Linked DNA regions of Homo sapiens: region 1 is linked to region 2. The links are contacts of gene promoters, found by promoter capture Hi-C in blood cells and fetal thymus (Javierre and others, 2016). All regions are on one chromosome and are shown on one strand. The core of a region is centred on a gene start or on the middle of the fragment in contact, and the rest is flanking DNA. Distances in the headings are between cores, read along the strand shown. Region 1 holds the start of FAM167A-AS1 (FAM167A antisense RNA 1). Region 2 overlaps GATA4 (GATA binding protein 4).

Region 1 (3,495 bases), core at 802-3,301, 370 kb before region 2:
CTTATTTTGATTGCCCTCCTATTAGTGAGCTAAATGTAATTCCCAGGAACATAATTCCCTGACCTGGCAACATCAGCATCTAGGGAGATTGTCTAATACACAGGTTTCTGGGCTACATCCCTTTAGATTCACTCATTAAGTGCCAGGTGCCACTGGTTATTTGAATCCAGCTGAGGCCCACTAGTCAGACCAGTTTAGACCAATGCAGTTTTCTAAAGAGCACTTTCTTGTTGCATCTTTTTTTTTTAAGATATTCCTGGGTTGAGCTTTCAGAAGGGCTACTCTAAACCCTCTGATGCAATTACCGTATAGATACATACAGGTTAACTTTTTAAGTTGAAGTTAGGCCAAATCAATTTCTGATTGTATTTTATGGTAAGGGAATGAGTGTGTTCAGAAAATGCTTTCAATCCGGTCATTTAAAAAAATATTTCTGGTGCAATACTGTATAGACACGTACAGGTTAACTTTTTTCCAGCGACCTCGGAATGTACTGCATGTAAAATCACTAGGAAGTGAAACTTCCAGTTCCACAGATTAATCATGGATATATTTGATAACAGCTATCAAGGATTAAAAGGCGTTTATTTATGTTGCATGCTTAATAACAAAATGTTATGCATTTGGAGTTTTGAACTGTTAGGTCAAAGCGTGGATTTTTTTGAAGGCATAACTGGATTTAAAATCTATTTGACTATTAACTGGAGAACTTTTAGGTAATTGAATTGTTTAACAGTTACATTACTGTAGCTTTTTCCTCCACTTAATAAGGTTTATGTTTGTAGATTTTATTTTTTTGTTATTTTTCTTTTGGGCTGCTCTTGAGAGGCAGGAAGATTTTATTTTTTAAAATCAGAAAGTTAGTAATGAATTCTTTTTTTGAAAGTTTGAGATATAGTTTACATACCATAAAATTCACTCATTTATAGTTCTGTGGTTTTCAATGTATTAAAAAGTTTTGCAACCATCACTATAATCTAATTTTAGGCCATTTCATCACCCCACAAAGAAATCATATTATATAAGCCCTTCCCACCCTCGGCAACCACTAATGTACTTCTTCTGTCCCTGGGTTTGTCTGTTCTGAGCATTTTATGTAAGTGGAATGTGGTTGTCTTTTAGTGGCTTCTTTAATTAAGCAGTCCATTTTCAAGGTTCATCCATGTTTTAGCATGTATCACTACTTCATTTTTTATTGCTAAGTAATATTCCATTGTATGAGTAATCCTCTTATTTTCTCTATCCATTCATCCATTGAGGGACATTTAGGTTTTTTGCACTTTTTAAGCTATTATGAATAATGCTGCTGTGAACATTTGGGTAGATAATTGAGTTTTAAAATGATTGCTTACTGTTTATAGTTTAAAAAACAGTTCTTAAGTTTGATTAATTTATTCTCAGTTATCTTAAAGGAACAAGCAATTCTTCCCTTTCATAAGATAAGAAGCAGCAACTCGAGTGACCTTTGTCTCCTAGACCCTAACCTTCCAGCATTTCTACCAGGCTCCTAGAATGACCTTTAATTCGGATCATTTGGAGGGGTTTGTTCCAAACAGGTTCCTTGAATCTTTCCCAATCTGTAAACACACCTCCAGGAGATCTCAAATAAGAGTGAAAAAATAATGAATGCTTCAGCTTCTTTGGATGATTCTTATTCACTGACATCTTTGTACTCCAAGACTAGAATTAGAGTTGTCCCTTCTGTCTGAACACTCAGTATCTGGTGCACATCTTGGGATCCCGGAGCCCATCAATGTTTTCCTGTAAAATGCTTTCCGTTCTGTTGGGAGAAAGGGTTTTTTATGATTAATTTGGAAATAACCCAAAAAGCTATTTGAAGGAAAAGTGGGTTTAACCACAAAAATAGTTTATTTATAAATAAAAAAGAAAGAATACAAAGATTGGCTTTGTTCTGATGTTTTACACAGGCTACCGGTGGTTATTAGTTTTCTGCTCACATGTTTGTGTGTGGCGTTGCTGGGATGTGCCTTGTGTTGCTACACAAACAGCGATCCCGAAGTCTGCCAGCAAGATAGATGGCCTGGAGTCCAGAACAGACTGGATTAGTGAAAGCTACTGCAGTGCTTTGGACACTTACTATGGTAGGTGGGAGATATTTAGTATTTTTTAATTCACATAGGCCAAATCACCAATTTGTGATTGTATTTTATGGTAAGGGTGTTCAGAAAATGCTTTAAATTCTGTCATTTTAAAAAAATGTTTATTAAGAGTTCAGACAATTTAAAAGATATATAATAAAGTTGTCTTCCCCTCCAAACCCAATCAATAACATGTTAGCAGTGTAGTGTGGGACCCAGTGCAGTGGCTCACACCTGTAATCAGTACTTTAGGAGGCTGAGGCAGGAGGATTGCTTAAAGCCAGGAGTTCAAGACCAGCCTGGACAACATAGCAAGACTCTCATCTCTACAAAAATAATTTAAGCCAGATGTGGTGATGCACACCTGTAGCTGCTACTCACGTGGCTGAAGCTGAGGGATCACTTGTAGCCAGGAGTTTGAGGCTGCAATGAGCTATGCTTGCGCCACCATACTCCAGCCTGAGCCACAGAGCGAGACCATCTCAAACAACAACACACAAAAAAACTAGTGTATACCTTTTATTTTCTCCTGTGCTTATACAATCTAGGAGTGGAAGGTGAAACCTTTTTCTTTTCTTTTACTATAAAAGTAGTGCTAAGACAATATTGTCAAAAGTTTTGGAAAAGACTCACTTTCAATTTTTGCCATGTCACATGGTAGCTGTTTTAAAATATTCTCCAGTCCTCTATGCGTTACAAAGAACTTACATGTAGTTTTAACATTTGCCATTTAAAGATAGCTGCATAACTCGTTGAATGGAGTATCATAATGATGTCATTCTATTTAATTGCTGAAACCTAGAAGTACAATTACTGGGTCACAGGGCGTAAACACCTACTTGCCTCTTCATTTTATGTGGTCAAATTTATCTTCGGAACGAGTTGGATTAATTTGTGATGAAATTCTCGACCATCAACACCTTCCTCTTGGCACATATTCATGGACCTCAGTATGGTTTACATTTGTTGAAAAGTTTTATTTTTGTGGCTGGGTGCAATGACTCATACTTGTAATCCCAGCACTTTTGGGAGGCTGAGGCAACAGGATCAGTTGAAAGTTTTATTTTTCTAAAAGGTTTGAAGAATATAAACTTCATTTTTTGCTGGAGAATCTTAACATTCTAATACAAGAGCCGTGAGTGAATAAATCCTAGATCTCACATAACCGGATGATAACTGCCTCTAAATCAGTGAATTGCTTCCAAAAATCACCGGTGAGAAAGGAATCTTGTTTTTTAATGATTTTTTTTTAGGGTAGTCACTTTAAAAAAAATTATTTCATGGCACTGTTTTTATAGCTTTAGTATGTTTGTCTATAAGGTAGCTAAACAGGCCACCCCTTACCTTCCAATGTGAAGATCCCAGAAAACTTTTTTTTAGCCAACTTACATATATA
Region 2 (3,630 bases), core at 919-3,418:
ATACCTCTCAGCTCTCCTGCCTGTTCGCCTCCCAAATGCCCAACCTCCAAATACCATCACATGTGGGTTAGGGTTGCCAGGAGTAAATTTCCTTGTTAATAAAATGAATGAGATAGGAAAGAAAGCGGCAATGTTTTCATTATTTGCAGATAAAATACTGGTCAACTTCACTAAACAAATGTAAATTCCCTGTGGAGGGAGCTATAAAGCTTTACTGAAGGGCATAAAAGAAGACATGAATAAATGGAGAAAGATACTAGATCCTTGGATTGGAAAAGTTGGCAGCATTCTTTATTCCAAACTCCCTCAAACAAATCTATAAATTTAACACAGTCTCAGGAAACATCCCAGCAAGATTTCTTAAATACAACGTGTCCAGCTGATTATAAAATTTATATGAAAGAGTTATTGTACAAGAATAGCCAAGATAATTTTTTAAAAGGAGACTTAAGAAAGGGGAACTTGCCTTATCAGAAATCAAAACAAACTAGAGACACACTGGCACGGAAGCTAAAGCAGTGATGTTCATTGCAGCCCTGTTGTGTGTAGCAGTGAAAAATTACTTGCTGAAATGCAGCCAAGGTATTAGGAATGGGGAGGCTGTGGCATAAAAAGATTGGCATTAGCATTGAATCCTTTCAAATATCATGTACAGCTAAACAGCTGTGAGAATTATGGAGTAGAATGTAAGTGTTATGTGCCTTAACAATGCCAAACTAATAAATCCTCTTCGAAGAGAGAAGTAGATCTGTGCTGATATGGAAAAATGTCTAAACAGATATGCGTCCCTGCAGAAACAGCTGCAGAGGAGTATCCATGGTATGATCCCACGTGTGTTCAGCACACTGCTCTGTTCTTTCCTGTACTGAGGGAGCCCATTTCTGGTGAGGATTATTTCCACCACCCCGATGACACAGGCTTGGCTATGAGACTTGCTTTGATCAAGAATATGTGACTCGAAGTCACTATGCAACTTCCACACAGAGGCATTAAGAGCCATTACGTGGTTCTGTCATTACTTTTTGCCCCCTGCCACGAGGCTGGCATGAACCACATAGAGGTTTTGCCTTCGGCCTGCATGTCCAATTGAAGCATACATATAGAATTTCGGCCAACTTGCAGCTGACATGTAATGTGAACAGCAAACAAATAACTATTTGTTTGTTACAGCATAACAGCTTAAACAGCACCAAACCAAGCATAAGTGTTTTATACATATACATTTGAACATGGCTAAAATATATCTCCTATATCCTAGATACACTTTTCTCATGTGTATAAACAGACATGTACAAGGATGCCTGATGAAGCATTGCTATTACAGCAAAAAACTGAAAACAATCTGAATATATATCAGTAAGTGTCTTAGCCAGTTTAGGTTGCTGTAACAGAATACCATAGAATGTGTGGCTTTAACAACGCTTATTTCTCAAAGTTCTGGAAGCCAGGAAGCCCAAGATCACGGCACTGGCAGATTGGTGTCTGGTGAGAGACCCAAGCCTGCTTTGCAGAAGACCATCATCTCACTGCATCCACTCATGGGGTGGGTGTAGGGAGATATCTATTCTGTCTTTTCTTTTCTTTTTTTTGAGGCAGAGTTTTGCTCTTGTTGCCCAGGCTGGAATGCAATGGCGCAACCTCGGCTCACTGCAACCTCCGCCTCCTGGGTTCAGGCAATTCTCCTGCCTCAGCCTCCTGAGTTGCTGGGATTACAGGCATGCACCACCATGCTCGGCTAATTTTTGTATCTTTAGTAGAGATGGGGGGGTTTCACCATGTTGGTCAGTCTGGTCTCGAACTCTTGACCTCAGGTGATCCCCCTGCCTCGGCCTCCGAAAGGGCTGGGATTACAAGAGTGAGCCACCGTGCCCAGCCTCTGTCTCTTCTTATAAGGGTACTAATCCCATTCATGAGGGCTCCGTCCGATGGCCTGTTCACCTCCCAAATGCCCAACCTCCAAATACCATCACATGTGGGTTAGGATTGCAAGATCTAAATTTGGGTTATTCACAGACGTTTAGTCCATAACCATAAAGAAATGAACAAGTAAAATGTGATTTATTAATATAATGGAAAACTGTAAATCAACTCAAATAAAGCAGATCCACATGTATAATTAAAACTGGGAAACATAATAGGCAAAAAAGAGACTGGAATTGTGGGTTACACAGAGGCATCTACTGTATCTGCAATGTTGTATTTCTTTAAAAACATCTGAAGGAAATATGGTAAAACAAAGATTTGAAAAAGCTGGTGGTGGGTTTAAGAGTGTTTGCTATATATTTTTTTCTCAGTGACTGAAATATTTCATATTTTTTAAAGAAAGCATTCATGTAAATCTTTAAAATTGCAAAGCAATGCTTATGTTCTTCAGAGGAACATTTATCCCTGTGTGTAGAAGTATATAGATTAATTGGAAGGATATACACTAAATTCAATATAGTGATTGGATAGCAGATGGTGGGGGAATAAACAGAATTGTTACAGTGTCCTTTGTGTTTTTATGTAATTTTAAAATTTCTAAAAATAAAAATGTTAATTAATGCAGTGGAAGATATCTGGAAAAACAGGAAAATTGTTAGCCACCTCTGCCCCTGGAGATGGGATCATGGTGATGGTGGAGACTTTTTGTTTGTTTGTTTGTTTCTTTCTTTCTTTCTTTTTTGAGACGGAGTTTTGCTCTTATTGCCCAGGCTGGAGTGCAATGGTGCAATCTCGGCTCACTGCAACCTCCTCCTTCCGGGTTCAAGCGATTCTTCTGCTTCAGCCTCCCCAGTAGCTGGGATTACAGGCATGTGCCACCACGCTGGCTAATTTTGTATTTTTAGTAGAGATGGGGTTTCTCCATGTTGGTCAGGCTGGTCTCGAACTCCCGACCTAAGGTCATCCGCCCGCCTCGGCCTCCCAAAATGCTGGGATTACAGGCGTGAGCCACCGCGCCTAGCTGAGACCTTTTGTTTCTACGTGACATTCTTCTGTACCGTTTGCCTGTTTGAAAAAAAAAATTTTTTTTTGAGATAGGGTTTTGCTTTGTCACCCAGGTTGGAGTGTGGTGGTGCGATCATAACTCGCTTGCAGGCCTGAAGTCCCAGGCTCAAGTGATCCTCCTACCTCAGCCTCTGGAGTAGCTGAGACTACAGGCGAGGGCCACCAAGCCCAGCTAATTATTATTTTATTTAAGAGATGTGGTGTTACTATGTTGCCCAGGCTGGTATTGAACTCCTGAGCTCAAGCCATACTCCGACCTCACAAAGGGCTGGGATTACAGGCCAGAGCCACCATGCCTGGCCTGTTTGAATTTTTGTAGCAATTAAAAATTGCGTAATTTAAACACAAATTGAAGGGGACAGGGACTAAAAACATAAATGAGAGTTAGAATGCAGTGCCACGTTGAATGCTTTCACAGGTAGGAGCCTAGAAATCATCTGTTCCAACTACTGCACTTTTGAGTTGTGGAGACCAGACCAAGAGAGGTGAAATGACTGTTGGCTAAGGCGTCCACCTCTACTTGCGTCTGGAATTGCCCCTGCCTCTGCCTTTAAGTCTGGTCTGCGTGGCTTCTGATAGCGAAGCCAGGGGCGGACCCCGTTCACTGCATCAGGAGAGCCCTGAGCAGCGCTTGGCAGGAAC

The links. The method cuts DNA at HindIII sites, captures the fragments that hold promoters and counts their contacts. A CHiCAGO score of 5 or more calls a contact.
Region 1: a contact is called between the fragment with the promoter of FAM167A-AS1 here and a fragment that was not itself captured in region 2, in 5 of 17 cell types (naive B cells, total B cells, M0 macrophages and 2 more). The highest score is 8.4, in naive B cells.

What each region holds. Positions count from the first base shown.
Region 1 is chr8:11,366,351-11,369,845 of GRCh38, forward strand. FAM167A-AS1 (FAM167A antisense RNA 1) reads left to right here and starts at 2,052. Exons shown (of 7, transcript NR_026814.1): 1 at 2,052-2,102. It also overlaps the pseudogene TDH. The HindIII fragment of the contact is 6,691 bases long and covers 1-3,495 here.
Region 2 is chr8:11,732,915-11,736,544 of GRCh38, forward strand. The region is part of intron 2 of GATA4 (GATA binding protein 4); the gene reads left to right. Among named protein-coding and RNA genes, the nearest start is that of LINC02905, 27 kb to the right of the region's middle. RefSeq lists enhancers at 2,841-3,341, 3,486-3,535. The HindIII fragment of the contact is 3,923 bases long and covers 208-3,630 here.